Regions from separate parts of the Homo sapiens genome. Here region 1 is linked to region 2. Evidence: promoter capture Hi-C in 16 types of primary human blood cells and fetal thymus (Javierre and others, 2016). All regions are on one chromosome and are shown on one strand. The core of a region is centred on a gene start or on the middle of the fragment in contact, and the rest is flanking DNA. Distances in the headings are between cores, read along the strand shown. Region 1 holds the start of LYRM4 (LYR motif containing 4). Region 2 holds the start of NUP153 (nucleoporin 153).

The links. Contacts are between HindIII fragments. The CHiCAGO score rates a contact against its expected background, and 5 or more counts as called.
Region 1: the fragment with the promoter of LYRM4 here is called in contact with the fragment with the promoter of NUP153 in region 2 in 1 of 17 cell types (total CD4 T cells); the score reaches 7.3 in total CD4 T cells.

Annotation. Positions count from the first base shown.
Region 1 is chr6:5,258,342-5,264,963 of GRCh38, reverse strand. It overlaps LYRM4 (LYR motif containing 4), which reads left to right and starts at 4,014. Exons shown (of 3, transcript NM_020408.6): 1 at 4,014-4,316. The coding sequence starts at 4,231. It overlaps FARS2 (phenylalanyl-tRNA synthetase 2, mitochondrial), which reads right to left and starts at 3,451. Exons shown (of 7, transcript NM_006567.5): 1 at 3,304-3,451. RefSeq lists silencers at 3,934-4,153, 4,214-4,523 and an enhancer at 4,734-4,783. The HindIII fragment of the contact is 1,910 bases long and covers 2,964-4,873 here.
Region 2 is chr6:17,705,332-17,711,938 of GRCh38, reverse strand. It overlaps NUP153 (nucleoporin 153), which reads left to right and starts at 5,014. Exons shown (of 22, transcript NM_005124.4): 1 at 5,014-5,662. The coding sequence starts at 5,552. It overlaps NUP153-AS1 (NUP153 antisense RNA 1), which reads right to left and starts at 4,896. Exons shown (of 3, transcript NR_134618.1): 1 at 4,811-4,896; 2 at 4,313-4,545; 3 at 912-1,150. RefSeq lists enhancers at 4,823-5,092, 4,902-5,596 and a silencer at 5,183-5,692. The HindIII fragment of the contact is 5,135 bases long and covers 3,284-6,607 here.

The DNA of each region.
Region 1 (6,622 bases), core at 2,765-5,264, about 12 Mb after region 2:
AAATCTGCCAGGCATGGTGGCATGAGCCTATAGGCCTAGCTACTCAGGAGGCTGAGGCAGGAAAATCACTTCAGCACGGGAGTTTGAAGTTACAACGAGATATGATAGCACTACTGCACTCCAGCTTAGTAAACAGAGACCCTGTCTCTATAAAATAAATTATTGTTTCGCTTATCTAGTCACCTACAAGTTTCTTAGGGGTGGGGAAGCTCTCATCACTGTGACTATATCATCTTATATAATATATGGTACTTATGGGCCGGGCGCGGTGGCTCACGCCTGTAATCCCCACACTTTGGGAGGCCAAGGCAGCTGGATCACCTGAGGTCAGGAGTTCAAGAAAAGCCTGGACAACATGGTGAAACTCCATCTCTACTAAAAATACAAAAAATTAGCCGGACGAGATTGCACCATTGCACTCCAGCCTGAGAAACAAGAGTGAAACTCTGTCTCAAAAAAAAAAAAAAAGAAAAAAGAAAAGAAAAACCATAACCTATAGTACTTAGGAAGTGTTCAATAAATGCTGAAGGAATGAACGAATGAGGAAAAAGTCTTCAGTTTGTTCATCTGTACAAATGAATGAGTTGATATCTAAGGTCTTCCCCCTTCCCCTTCGTGTTCTATTAAAATGAAGGATCAATGTATAATACTTGGATTCATGTGTGGTGTAGAATAGAATAATTTCTTTTTGTTGTTGTTGTTGTTTTTTCTTTTTGGTAGACAGGGTCTCACTCTGTTGCCCAGGCTACAGAGCAGTAATGTGATCATGGCTCAATGCAGCCTCAACCTCCAGGGCTCAAGCAATCCTCCCACCTCAGCCTCCCAAGTAGCTGGGACTACAGGCACATGCCACCACACCCAGTTAATTTTTGTATTTTTTGTGTAGAGGTGAGGTTTCGCTATGATGTATTTTTTGTATAGATGGGGTTTTGCCATGTTGCCCAGGCTGGTCTCAAACTCCTGGGCTCAAGCAATCCACCTGCCTCAACCTCCCAAAGTGCTGGGATTACAGGTGTGAGCCACCATGCCCAGCTGAACAATTTCTAAATAATATCGTAAGTTACTACTACTATACAAATTTTACTTTATACATCATTTTGATATTTAAGCTTAAGGACAGTAAATTGTTGTTACACTGTTTATTATGATTAGAGAAATTTCTCTTCACAAAGCATTAAGTGGTCATTAACAACCCTAATTTTAATAGAAGGTAACACATGATCTTCCATAAAGAACTACAGGTAGTCGATAACTTTTGATAAATGAATACTAAAGAAATTTTTACGTTTTGATGCCTAAATGGTACCTCCTGTTTTACAGATACTCTCTAAGAAAAATTTCAACCCAGAATAGAATGACTATTAAAGGACGTATGTGTAAGGTCCATTCTTCAGCTTCTGGCCCAAATCTACTTACAATCTCAAATCGAGTTATTTTTTTTAAGTCATCTCCGCAATGAAGATGTGCAAAAGTGAGATGTAGCTACGGAATGATTATTTTCTTTTAGCCTCTCCAGGCAATGATGTCCAACACATTGGTAAACCATTTTAAATAAAATAATAAGGTATTTTTATGAAGACTTGGCTCAGAATTAACTGGGAAGCCTATCACTTTCCTAACTGCAACCATTGCTCGTACTAACAGAGGACTAAGCTACCCAAACTATTTAAACTATACATATTTATTTGGAAAAGTTTTATTTGATTACAACAAAGTTGAGTAATTTAGATACATTAATTATGTACGTTAATGATTAAATTCCTTGATAATTAGGTAGAAACAATTGTATATAGTAATTATTCCAACTTTACTCTCAAAAGCAAAATATAATAAAATAATGTAATCTTTGCTATTTTTAAAAAAGCCAAAATAATCTTCAAGTTTTTCCTTTTCACTCTGATAGCATTCTCTATCAGTAACTTGCATTAATGTTGTAGCTTTGAGGTGCCGCATATCATTTCATATCACTGGCACACAATAGTGTATCAAGAGAAATCAGCTCTGAATCTTACTCTATAACAATGTGCAATTGCCTTGGTCTTGGATCCTTTAAGAAATAGCAAAGGGAAAACTCAAAAAAGTCCTTTCAATAAAGCAGAGGCTAGATTTGCTCAATGACCTGACCAACCAGGAAGTAATAGAAGTTTTGCTATCCTGTTTAAAAAATAATAATAAACAATAACAGACATGAGATTTTCAAGAAATCAGGGAGGAGACTTAAAGATATCTTAATAAAAGTATTTTCTCTTCAGTGCCTTTTAAAAAATGTCATTGCATCAGGATTAGTAAGAATATCTGGATGCAAGGACACCAGGTTGCAAGTACACTAAAGAATGGTAAGGTCAGAGAAGTGTTTTTTCTGCCTTTAAAGTTCCTGAAAATAGAGGCTGGGCGTGATGACTCACACCTGTAATCCCAGCATTTTGGGAGGCCGAGGCGGGCGGATTGCCTGAGGTCAGGAGTTCGAGACCAGCCTGACCAACATGGTGAAACCCTGTCTCTACTAAAAATACAAAAATTAGCTGGGCGAGGTAGCGCGCGCCTGTAATCCCAGCCACTCAGGAGGCTGAGGCAGGAGAATGGCTTGAACCTGGGAGGCATAGGTTGCAGTGAGCCCGAGATCCCGCCACTGCACTCCAGCCTGGGCGACAGAGCGAGACTCCATCTCAAAAAAAAGAAAAGGAAACAGAAAAGTTCCTGAAAATATAAAGTTGTTTAGACATACAGCAGGTATATCGTTTCAAAACCAAATACACTAAAGCAGATGAGAACACAACCGTGACCAAGTGGTTCGGAGAAAGATGGATTTTAATGCAAAGTTGTTTTGTTTTCACGCATAACGTACTTCTCGCTGTGCTTGAGTGCAGAAAGGTGTGGTTCTTCCTAAGGTTGATTACATAAAGCAAGATTCCAAAAACAAGAAAAGTGCTTTGCAAACACAGTAACTAGGACTGGCTGAAGCTTCCTGCGTCCAGTGCCATGCTCAAAGATCAGAACAAGCAACTTTATCCACCACTTTAATAAGATGATTCAAAAAAGCTGCAGTCTTCTGAAGAAAGCCATGGTTGAAAACTTGCTCCGCTTCTTGGAGAAAGCCTAAAGCCCTAAAGGTCTCTAATTATTCTCCAAAGTCTACAACCCAAGCTGCATTTTATGCATTTATTAGGTTACAAAACCACGGGAACTCTTCACTCAAAAGCAAAAACACATCCGGAAAGAGGAAAAAATCCACGGCCAATGTAAACCCCCTACAACACCAACCGCCCACGTCGTACCCCAGGCTGCAATGAGGCCGGCACTCACCCACCGCTCGCCCGGGAAGCCCAGACCCAGGTGTTTCAAAATCAGAAGTACGGCAGGCTCGTTCGCTCTCACGGGCAAGAATCTTAAACCCCAACTTCAGAGATACCCGCGCACGCTGGGCGCTGCCATTTTGACAGAAAGCGGGCCTGCCCCAGAGGCCCCTACGCAGGTCGCCCTGAGCAGAGCCGGAGTGCCACAGAACCCCTAGCTCATCACCTCCACACCCAGACGTCGCATCCCCCGGCCTGAGGAATGCCAAGAAACCCCACCCTGCCGACCAGGATCAGGCGAAATCAAGTCACCCTTGAAATCCCGCAAACTCTCTCAGGCAGCGCCGAGGGCGACCGCAGCCGGCGTGGGAGGGGCATCGGCGGTCAGGGGCGGGGCGTCGGTGCGGCGGCCTTCGGTAACCCGGGCAACGCGGCCTCCTGGATGTAGGAAGGGGCGCTGCCCCCGAAACACAAATGTCTCCGCCAAGACCCCAGACGGTTCCCAAAGGCTCTCCGTGATGCAACTGCACGTCCCTCGAATGCCTGGGCCTCCGATATCCGTCCGCCAGGAGCTTGGCTGGATGCACGGGCGGCCAGTCCTCTTATTTCCCCGCCCTCCCGCCGCGTGGAGCGGCTGCTGGGTCCCGAGCCTCCGGGCGGGGGCGGGATCGGGGCGGGGCGGAGGCATCTCCCTCCCAGCACCGCCCCCTTAGCTGCCCCGAGCCCTGCCTGCGCCCGCCCCCGAAGCGGCGCGGGACGCCTGGCGCCGTCCGCGATCCGCAGGGCTGCCCGCTTAGGCTTAGGCCCGGCCCGCTGGCAAAGCCGAGCCGCAGCATTTTATTTCGTTCGTGGTTTCCGCACAGGCTGGAGTTTCGTGGGTTGGGTCGTACTTGGGACCTCGGCGAAGAGGACCCGTTTATTTTTTTTTCTTTCCAAAATGGCAGCCTCCAGTCGCGCACAAGTGTTATCTCTGTACCGGGCGATGCTGAGAGAGAGCAAGCGTTTCAGCGCCTACAATTACAGGTGACCCAGCGGGCACCGGGGGCCGGGGGCGGGGGGCCAGGGGCCGGGGACCGGGGGTGCGGGCTGACGCGGAATATCCCCGGGGACTGGGAGCCACCGTGGTTTGCCGGCGGCTGCGAGGCAAGGACCGGGCTCCGCCATCGAAAAGCGTGCTCCTGCCTACAGGTGTGGCCTCTGAGACCTCGGGGAGGAGCCTTTCTTTCTACCAGGGGAGACGTTCATGTCTTGTGACGTTTTCCCCCTAAAGGCTATCTTGGTAGTTATTCTAGGAGCATGATTAGTGTTATGTTTCTGCAGAAGAGAAAAAAGGGATGGAAATCAGTCATTTGTGAAGTTAAGGCCAGTGTGTTGCATATGTAAAACTTCCCTTGAGCACTGGAAGAGTTGAGAGTGGAAGTGGCCAGTGAGTAGTACACTGCGACAAAGCTGAAGGCACACTCTAGCACCTCCCTAAAATTTCCTAGGTGTCGTAATGAGTTCTTTTGGTTGCAAGAATCCATTCTATTTAGGGTATGGTGGAAATGCGTAGCGGAAAAGGAAAAAGGGTCTCACAAGCTTTGGAGCTGAAACCTCAGTTTCTCCTGGCTCACCAGACAGAGATCCCGCTTACTGGACCTTGACAGCAGGATATTGAGGGCCTAAACTCACATCTTTAATATAACACATTCACTTTTTCTCACGCCTCCCCACTCCCCTATTTGCCTATGAGTCTTTTATTGTTACTCTTTGTATGTTTTTTCTAATTCAGAGCCTCTGCTTTCACAGTGTTGCTGGTTCTGACCCATCATTTTCTTATGGATTCTCTCTCTGCATTTTTTTTTAGATTTGTTTTTTGTTTTGTTTTGTTTTTACTAACTACCTGTCTCTCTCTGAGTTTGAGCCATATTCCCATGAGAAAGAATCTGGTTGGATCAACTCATCTCTTTACCTCAAGCCTCACTTAGGTGACTGGCCAGACTGTGGATTGGATGTCATAAGAGCAGAGCCTACCCTTGGAACACACCTGGTTAGGTAGGCCCCCCTCCAGCACGTGTGTGAGCTGGCAGGCCCTGAGATGGGTCTGCCCAGTACAACCTCTGTCAGAGGACAGGAACGCTAAGCCTCTTAAGCAATGACTCTCAAATTTTTAGAAACCCGCCTGGAAAATATACTCATGCTGCAAATTTGAAAACAGCATCTGGGTCATACCACTGAGGTTGTATCCACCCAGTTAAGTGGTTAAATTTCACGGGAGAGAATGATTTTACTTAATGACTTTGACTTTGGAGAATAAAGAGTGTAATAATAAGCATACTGGTGGAATTTTAGCAAGAATTAACCAAACACCTAGCACCAAGTACTTAACCAAGTCTGTTGAGGAAACACATGAAATATGCAAGTTAAATAAATAGAAACCATTTGATTTCACCATAGTCTGGAGTAAAATAGTTTGTCATTAAAGCTTACTCAGGATACACAAGGACTTGGAATCAGCAGGCAGTTCACACACTAAGGAAAGTGGCAGGGAGAGGGTTTATGTGAGAGCATGTAAGAAAGTCAAGGTGGAGCCCTCGAAGACTAACTTGGACAAGTCTCTCAATCTCTGTATTTCAGTTTTCTTGTTTATGAAATAGACTGTTGGACTAGACAATCTCTAAGGACCCTTCCATTTCTGAAATTCTCTTTGGAAATGATTTATGAGCAAATGAGGCCCAAGCGTTTTCAAATGAGTAATTGCCAACTGAACAGGAAAATCATTCACGAAACTCAACAGGAAAATCATTCAAACTTTAGGAAAATCATTCAAGACTCTACCTGAAAGGCAGAAAATTGAAAATGGGTTTCAGTATGGGCAACTGTAAGATCATATGCATTCAGAAAATAATTGATCAAATTATACCTTAAGCATATACTTTTAAGCTAAATTTACTATCCAAATATAAATATATTATCCAAAGGAATCTGATAATCATTTTATACTGTTACCTGAGATCATAGACCTAAAAACCGACATTCCTGCTATTACCTCCCTAGATAAACTTACTTGTTATAAAAATACGTCCTTTTACATTAAGGCTGTGTCTTGTGAATTTCAGGAAAAGTCCCTTCCCTCCTCTCTAATCTCTGCAGCTGTTTGTCACTGATGGCAAATCAATAGCAACACAACATCCACTATCAATTCTGTGTGCCACTGCTATCTTATGTTCTTCATGTCTATTAACACATTTGTTTTGACAATAATCTTGTGAGGTAGGTACTATTTGTATTACCCTGTAAGGCAACTGAGGCACAGGGAGCTTAAGTTACCTATCAAAACTAACACAGGT
Region 2 (6,607 bases), core at 3,765-6,264:
CTCGGCTAATTTTTTAATTTTTTTAGTAGAGACGGGGTTTTGCCACGTTGGCCAGGCTGGTCTCAAACTCCTGACCTCGGGTGATCCGCACATCTTGGCCTCCCAAACTGCTGGATTACTGGTGTGAGCCACTGTGCCTGGCTTGAGTGTAGCATTTTTAAGGTGAATTATCAGTGTTAAGTGCTAATGATTAATAGATTATAAAATAGTAAACTTTAGTATAACTCAATAAAATGGTAAAGTGTAGCATAATATGTAGACAGAGATTGTTTTACAGTTTTGTATACTGACATACTAAATGCCAAGACTAGAAACCAACACATAAATATCTCAATAAATATTTGTGTTTTAATGAATTAATCTCAGTTAATTCATTAACTGTCTTAAATGTTAGGATGGGATTGCCTTCCTAAATTTGGTTATTATTTCATCCAATAAAACTGAGTTTCCATTCAAGATTGAATTTAAAATATGCCTTAAACTATAATGTAATGTACATAAACACATATATACCAAAGTCTAGTATACATTGATACATGTAGTCAGGAAGAGGAAATATATGGCATGTTGGAATCAAGTGATATATGTAGTTAATCAAAATTTGCTCATATTAGTTAATTTAGTCTTAAATATTACTTTATTCCCAATAGAGAGAGAACACAGTAAGTTAATGAGAATACAATGATTTACATCCTTAAATATCTTTCCGTTGTGTGGCCCTTCTTTCCCTAAAATACAAGCAAACAGGCAATAAATAAATAAATAAATAATAAATAAACCCAATAGCTTCATTTTCTTTATTTTTTTCTTTAGAGATGGGGTCTCACTCTGTTACCTAGGCTGGACTGCAGTGGTGAGATCATAGCTCGCTGCAGCCTTAGACTCCTGGGCTCAAGTGATCCTCCTGCCTCAGCCTCCCTAGTAGCTGGGACTACAGGTGCACACCACTAAGCTCAACTAATTTTTTCATTTCTTTGTAGAGAAGGGGTCTCGTTATGTTGCCCAGGCTGGTTTCAATCTCCTGGCCTCAAGTGATCCTCCTGCCTTGGCTTCCCAAAGTGCTGAGATTATGGGTGTGAGCCACATGCCTGACCAGGAATACACTTTAAAATAATAAAGTATGGTAGCAACAGGAAATGGCAAGGAGTGCCTGTTAAAAAAAAAAAAAAGGTATAGTAAATACATAAACCAGAAACAGCCACTTATCATTATGAAGTATTCTGTACTGTACATAATTGTACATACTCCACTTTTACACAAATGGCAACACAGTAGGTTTGTTTATACCAGCATCACCACAAACACGTGAGTAATGTGTTGCAATAAGACCTTAGGACAAAGACAGTATCACCAGGCAATACGAATTTTTCAGCTCTTTATGGGACCACCATTGTATATTGGGCCCATTGTTGATTGAAACATTGTTATGCTGTGCATGAGTGTGATAATTTGTTTTAATAGACATCACAGCAGATACCTCATTTTGTTTTGGTAAGGTGGAATAACTACATAAAATTTCGTAACTTCTTGTACTTGTCATCTTTAAACATTCTTTTGGCCAGAATTGTATTAGTACCTTCTGAAGAATGTATGATGGCTCTTTTTCAATCTAGGTTGGGTTTAGACTAAATTGTATTTCACTTTTAATTAGTGGATACTCCTTATCTATTAGAGATGGGTCAGCAGCCTATTTGCTAATTTATAATTGGCAGCTGGTTACATATATATATATACATATATATATATATTTGTTGTTTTAATTTTTTAATTTTTTTGATATGGAGTCTCACTCTGTGGCCCAGGCTGGAGTGCAGTGGCATGATCTCAGTTCACTGCAACCTCCACCTCCATGGTTCAAGCGATTCTCCTGCCTCAGCTTCCCGAGTGGCTGGGACTACAGGTGAGCACCACCACGCCCAGCTAATTTTTTTTTTTTTTTTTTTAAGTGGAGACAGGTTTCACCATGTTGGCCAGGCTGGTCTCGAACTCCTGACCTCCAGTGATCCACCCGCCTTGGCCTCCCAGAGTGCTGGGATTACAGGTGTGAGCCACTGTGCTCGGCCACTTTCTACTATATTATATGGGGAACAAAATAAAGAAGTTTCTTGGCAGAGGAGGACTATTGTAGCAACAAGCTTTTCATGAATTGCAGTGTCTCCCAATATGCCATTTATTTGGCTGAAAAAACTAGGTCCAGGTTGAATGCAGATTTCCTCCTGTCTCTTTATTCCTTCTCTGCTCTCAAGCCTGGCACGGCTTCCAATGACTCAATCACATGAATGTGAGATTAATGCATTATAGTTCCCTCAAATACTATTTTACTTCCAAGAAATAAAATAATTGTGGAAATGGGTAAAAAGTTGAGAGCATGGGTAAAAGGAATGTGGATTTTCCCATATCTCCTCAAGTTCTACCAATCTTCTATTTCTGAAGCATTGTCTACATTTGGCCCAATTCTTTCGCGTCTCTCTTCCTTTCAAAGGTTGGCTGTGAAGGGTGTCCAGCACATCAAAGAATAGCCTCCAAGAAAGGGGTGAGCTTTGATTCCAGTCAGTCCTCTGTTCTGTGGTGGAAACTCTGGGTCTCATAGAGTGAAGAGGGCAGATGGGATGTGGCTATGGTTTAATCTCCTCTACGTATAACCCAATTAAAGATTCAGGTACAGATCTTCCCTATGAGTTAGCTTATCGTGAATTACTTTACTTGGCTGTCAAATATCTAGCTATGGATTTGTGGAAGAATAGGATTTCTGCATAGGAGGAAGATAGCACCTGAGGGAAACAACTGTCTTTAAGAAAGATGAAGTGCTTCAGGAGGAAGAGGGGGCATACCTGGAGAATTTAGTGGGAAGTTAGTGGTGGGAGGAGGCATGAAGCTAGGATGAGACAGCGGAAAATAGATTAATTTTGTTTATCATATTTGGCAACTTGTCTTGATCTTGATGGTTATGGTCAGAGGTGCCACTGAAAGCCATTGATGTGTACACCTATGCTTGGTATAGCATAGTTTCTTTAGGCGCTGAAAGGTACAAGTTCAAAGGTACTAGAAGACTGGCTTTACAATTTCACTTGTATGATTTAAACAATGAACCTGAATTGTGCAGTTTGATTGTGGAGATAGTATAAATGTCTTGGAACTAATTATTTATATCTGATTGATGGTTGATATTGGATGCTTTCTATCTAAGCAGTTACTATGAACTAGATATACATTAATCCTTTCACCAGACCACTACCCTGTGAGGTCAATATTCGCTCTATTTGCTGATGAAAAAAACGAAGCTTAGAAACAGGATCAGTGGGCTGGGCGCGGTGGCTCACGCCTGTAATCCCAGCACTTTGGGAGGCCGTGGGCAGATCACCTGAGATTGAGAGTTCGAGACCAGCCTGACCAACATGGAGAAACCCCATCTCTAGTAAAAATACAAAATTAGCCGGCCGTCGTGGCACATGCCTGTAATCCCAGCTACTCGGGAGGCTGAGGCAGGAGAATCGCTTGAACCCAGGAGGTGGAGGTTGCTGAGATTGCGCCATTGCACTCCAGCCTGGGCAAAACAAGAGGAAAAAACTTCGTCTCAAAAAAAAAAAAAAAAGAAAGAAACAGGATCAGTAACTTCCCCAAGGCTACACAGCTAGTAAGTGGGAGATTTATAGTAAATAGGCTGGGCGTGGCGGCTCACACGGGTAATCCCAGCACTTTGGGAGGCCAAGGCGGGTGGATCACTTGAGGTCAGGAGTTCAAGGCCAGCCTGGCCAACATGGCGAAACCCCATCTCTACTAAAAATACACAAATCAGCTGGGCGTGGTGGTGCACGCCTGTAGTCCCAGCTACTTAGGAAGCCGAGGCAGGAGAATAGCTTGAACCTGGGAGGCAAAGGGTGCAGTGAGCCAAGATCGCGCCACTGCACTCCAGCCTGGGCGACAGGGCAAGACTCTGTCTCTCAGAAAAAAAGAAAGAAAGAAAGAAAGAAAAAAAAAGATTTATAGTAAGTCTAAGATTTTTCACAACATATTTTTCCTCCCTAATCATTTGGCTATTTGTCTTTAGCTCTTACAGAAAAGTTGGGTTATAGTCCTGGCTTTGATTACCCATCTCAGTGTCATTGATTGTGCCACCTAAATTTCTCTGGACATCTTGTCTGGTTGGTTGAATGAGAGGGTTGGACTATGTGATCACCAGGACCTTTCTAATCGTCAACTCCTAGAATATACATTTTGTGGATTCAGTCTTTGAGTCTAGCTCACTTACTCAGTTTCCTAAATATTTGGAGCAAATATAGTATACTTTTATTGTTAAGGATATATCACTTACCCCTAATGTTAGCTGACTGCATGGGTTATAATTGTAATCATTCATCGCATTTTTCGTCTATTAGCAAATATACATGCTCTCCATAGATGATCACGTCTGCTCCTCACAACAGCTTTATAAGGTGGATTTTAAAGCTCCCATTTTATGGAGGAGGAAGCTAAGGCTCAGACGGTTTTGATTCATCCAAGGTCAAATAGGTTGGGTGGCAGAACCAGAATTCCAGCCCCGTGTGTCTGCAACAAAACCTTTATATGTTTAAAGAAACATTAATGAAGCCGTATATATTTTCTAATTCTAAGGATCATGGACTTTATTTTTCAACCACAGATTTTTTTTTCCTCCTTCTTAAATCATTAGCTCTTGTCTTTGATTTTACTGTCTGCTTACTTCCTGCCTACTTAACCAACCGACAGGGAGAAGGAGAATGGGAAGAGGTTACTGTTTTTATGTTAAGTGTCTTTTCAAAGTCTAATTTACAGCCAAGAACAGCAAAAGTACCCCTTGGCTTTGTGCCTCTGCGGCGCCCCGGAGATCTCCTTCCCCGTCCCTCTTCCTTTCCGAGAAGCCGCGTTCCGTTGTTGAACTACGTTTCCCAGCGTGCCGCGCGGCCGAGAGCGTGGACTCGACCAGCCCTTCCTCTTTGCCTATCAGCTCGTCGCAGCATGATGATGCAAATGCGTCGGGCGCCGATGAGTGACGACATTCTGGCTCGCGACCGCGGCAGCCGCCTTAGCAGGGGTAATAGGCGCAACGGCGGCGGAGGCTGCAGGGACGACGACGACGACGGCGGCGGGGCGGGCGCTGTGCGCACAGGGGAGGGGTAGGCGGGCGTCGCCAGCGGCTTCAACTGCGGCAGCTACGGCTAGGGCGACGGAAGAACTCCCACCAGTCGGCGGTCGAGTTAGGCCTCAGCACCGCGGGGAACTGTTCGTGCTGTCCTCTGCGGGAGATCTCCATAGAGACCGTGACACACACAGAGGCGGGGGTCCGCAGAGGCGGCCGGACCGGAGCCTCCTCGGCCTCTGCGGCCGCCACCCCCTTCCCCGCTGCCAGCACTCACCCTCTCTCCGCTCCTGCTCGCAACCTCGCGGTTCCTGGGGTGCTTGTGCCCACTGTGTGGACAGCGCGGGCGGACTTTTGGGCCGGGGCCGGGCGGCGGGGGAGGCTCTCTAAGGCCTCCGCCTCTGCCTCTCCCGCCCCCTTACCCGCCCCGGAGCGGGAAGCGGCGGAGGCTCCGCCATGGCCTCGGGAGCCGGAGGAGTCGGAGGGGGCGGTGGCGGCAAGATCCGGACGCGGCGTTGCCACCAGGGGCCAATTAAGCCTTACCAGCAGGGGCGACAACAGCATCAGGTATGGGACCCCGACGCCGCGGTGGCCTGGCGGGTGGGGAAACTCGGCTGGAGGGGACGGGCGGTTCGAGGCCCCGGCGCCCCACGTGGAGCAGACAGGAGGGCCTGAGGAAAGGCCCGAGTGAGGCTCCGGGGGAGCTCAGGCCGTTGGGGGTGGCGACGGGAAGTGGGCTGAGACAGGCCCAGCCTTGCGGCGCACACGTGTGGTTTGGGCCGCCTTTCCCCCAACTCTCTGGGTCAGGGGCTTTCCCAGGCAGGCTCTGGGCGGGAAAAGAAATTGTAGGCCCATGATGCGCGCGTTTCTTTATTTTTTGGCGGGGATTTGGAATTTGAGGGTATTACTCATGTTCTCTCGAGGGAGAAAGGAAAAGATGTGGTTGATGGCCCTTATACTTGCTGTTTTCTGGTGTCCCTTCTTTAGTGTGTTTGAGGAGGGGGGGCTGCCCCTTGGAATCTTAACTCTGGGGCAGACGGGGAGTTGTGGGGGGCGCTGTTACATGGAAAGTGGAATAACTTAGTCTCAGCCTATGAGTTAATTCTCGGTTTCCCCTGCCTGTGGCCCTCCTCGTCTTGAGAGCATTGGCTTAGATTTTATTAACCAGGTTATAGTTAACCGTGGCACTGGGGCATTTTGAAAGTCCCTCTCCACCCTTACGTCTTTTCTCTGCTGCGCGACTCCCCTCCCCCCCCCCAACACCGCCACCCCCGCCTTTATTTTGGAGGCTGGAATTGGCCATTCTCCACAGTTGACCGGGACTCCAGCTCTGATCTCATACACAAAATATTTTAATATTATGAGGCGTATTCTAGAAGTATAGTTACTTTTGACACTCCAGGAATGTTGGTGGTCTTATAGTTTAGCCACTGTATGAACTCCTGGATGTTTAAAATTATAAAAAAGGATTATCCTAATTGTAAATGAGATAGTTGATTCTGAGAAAATTCC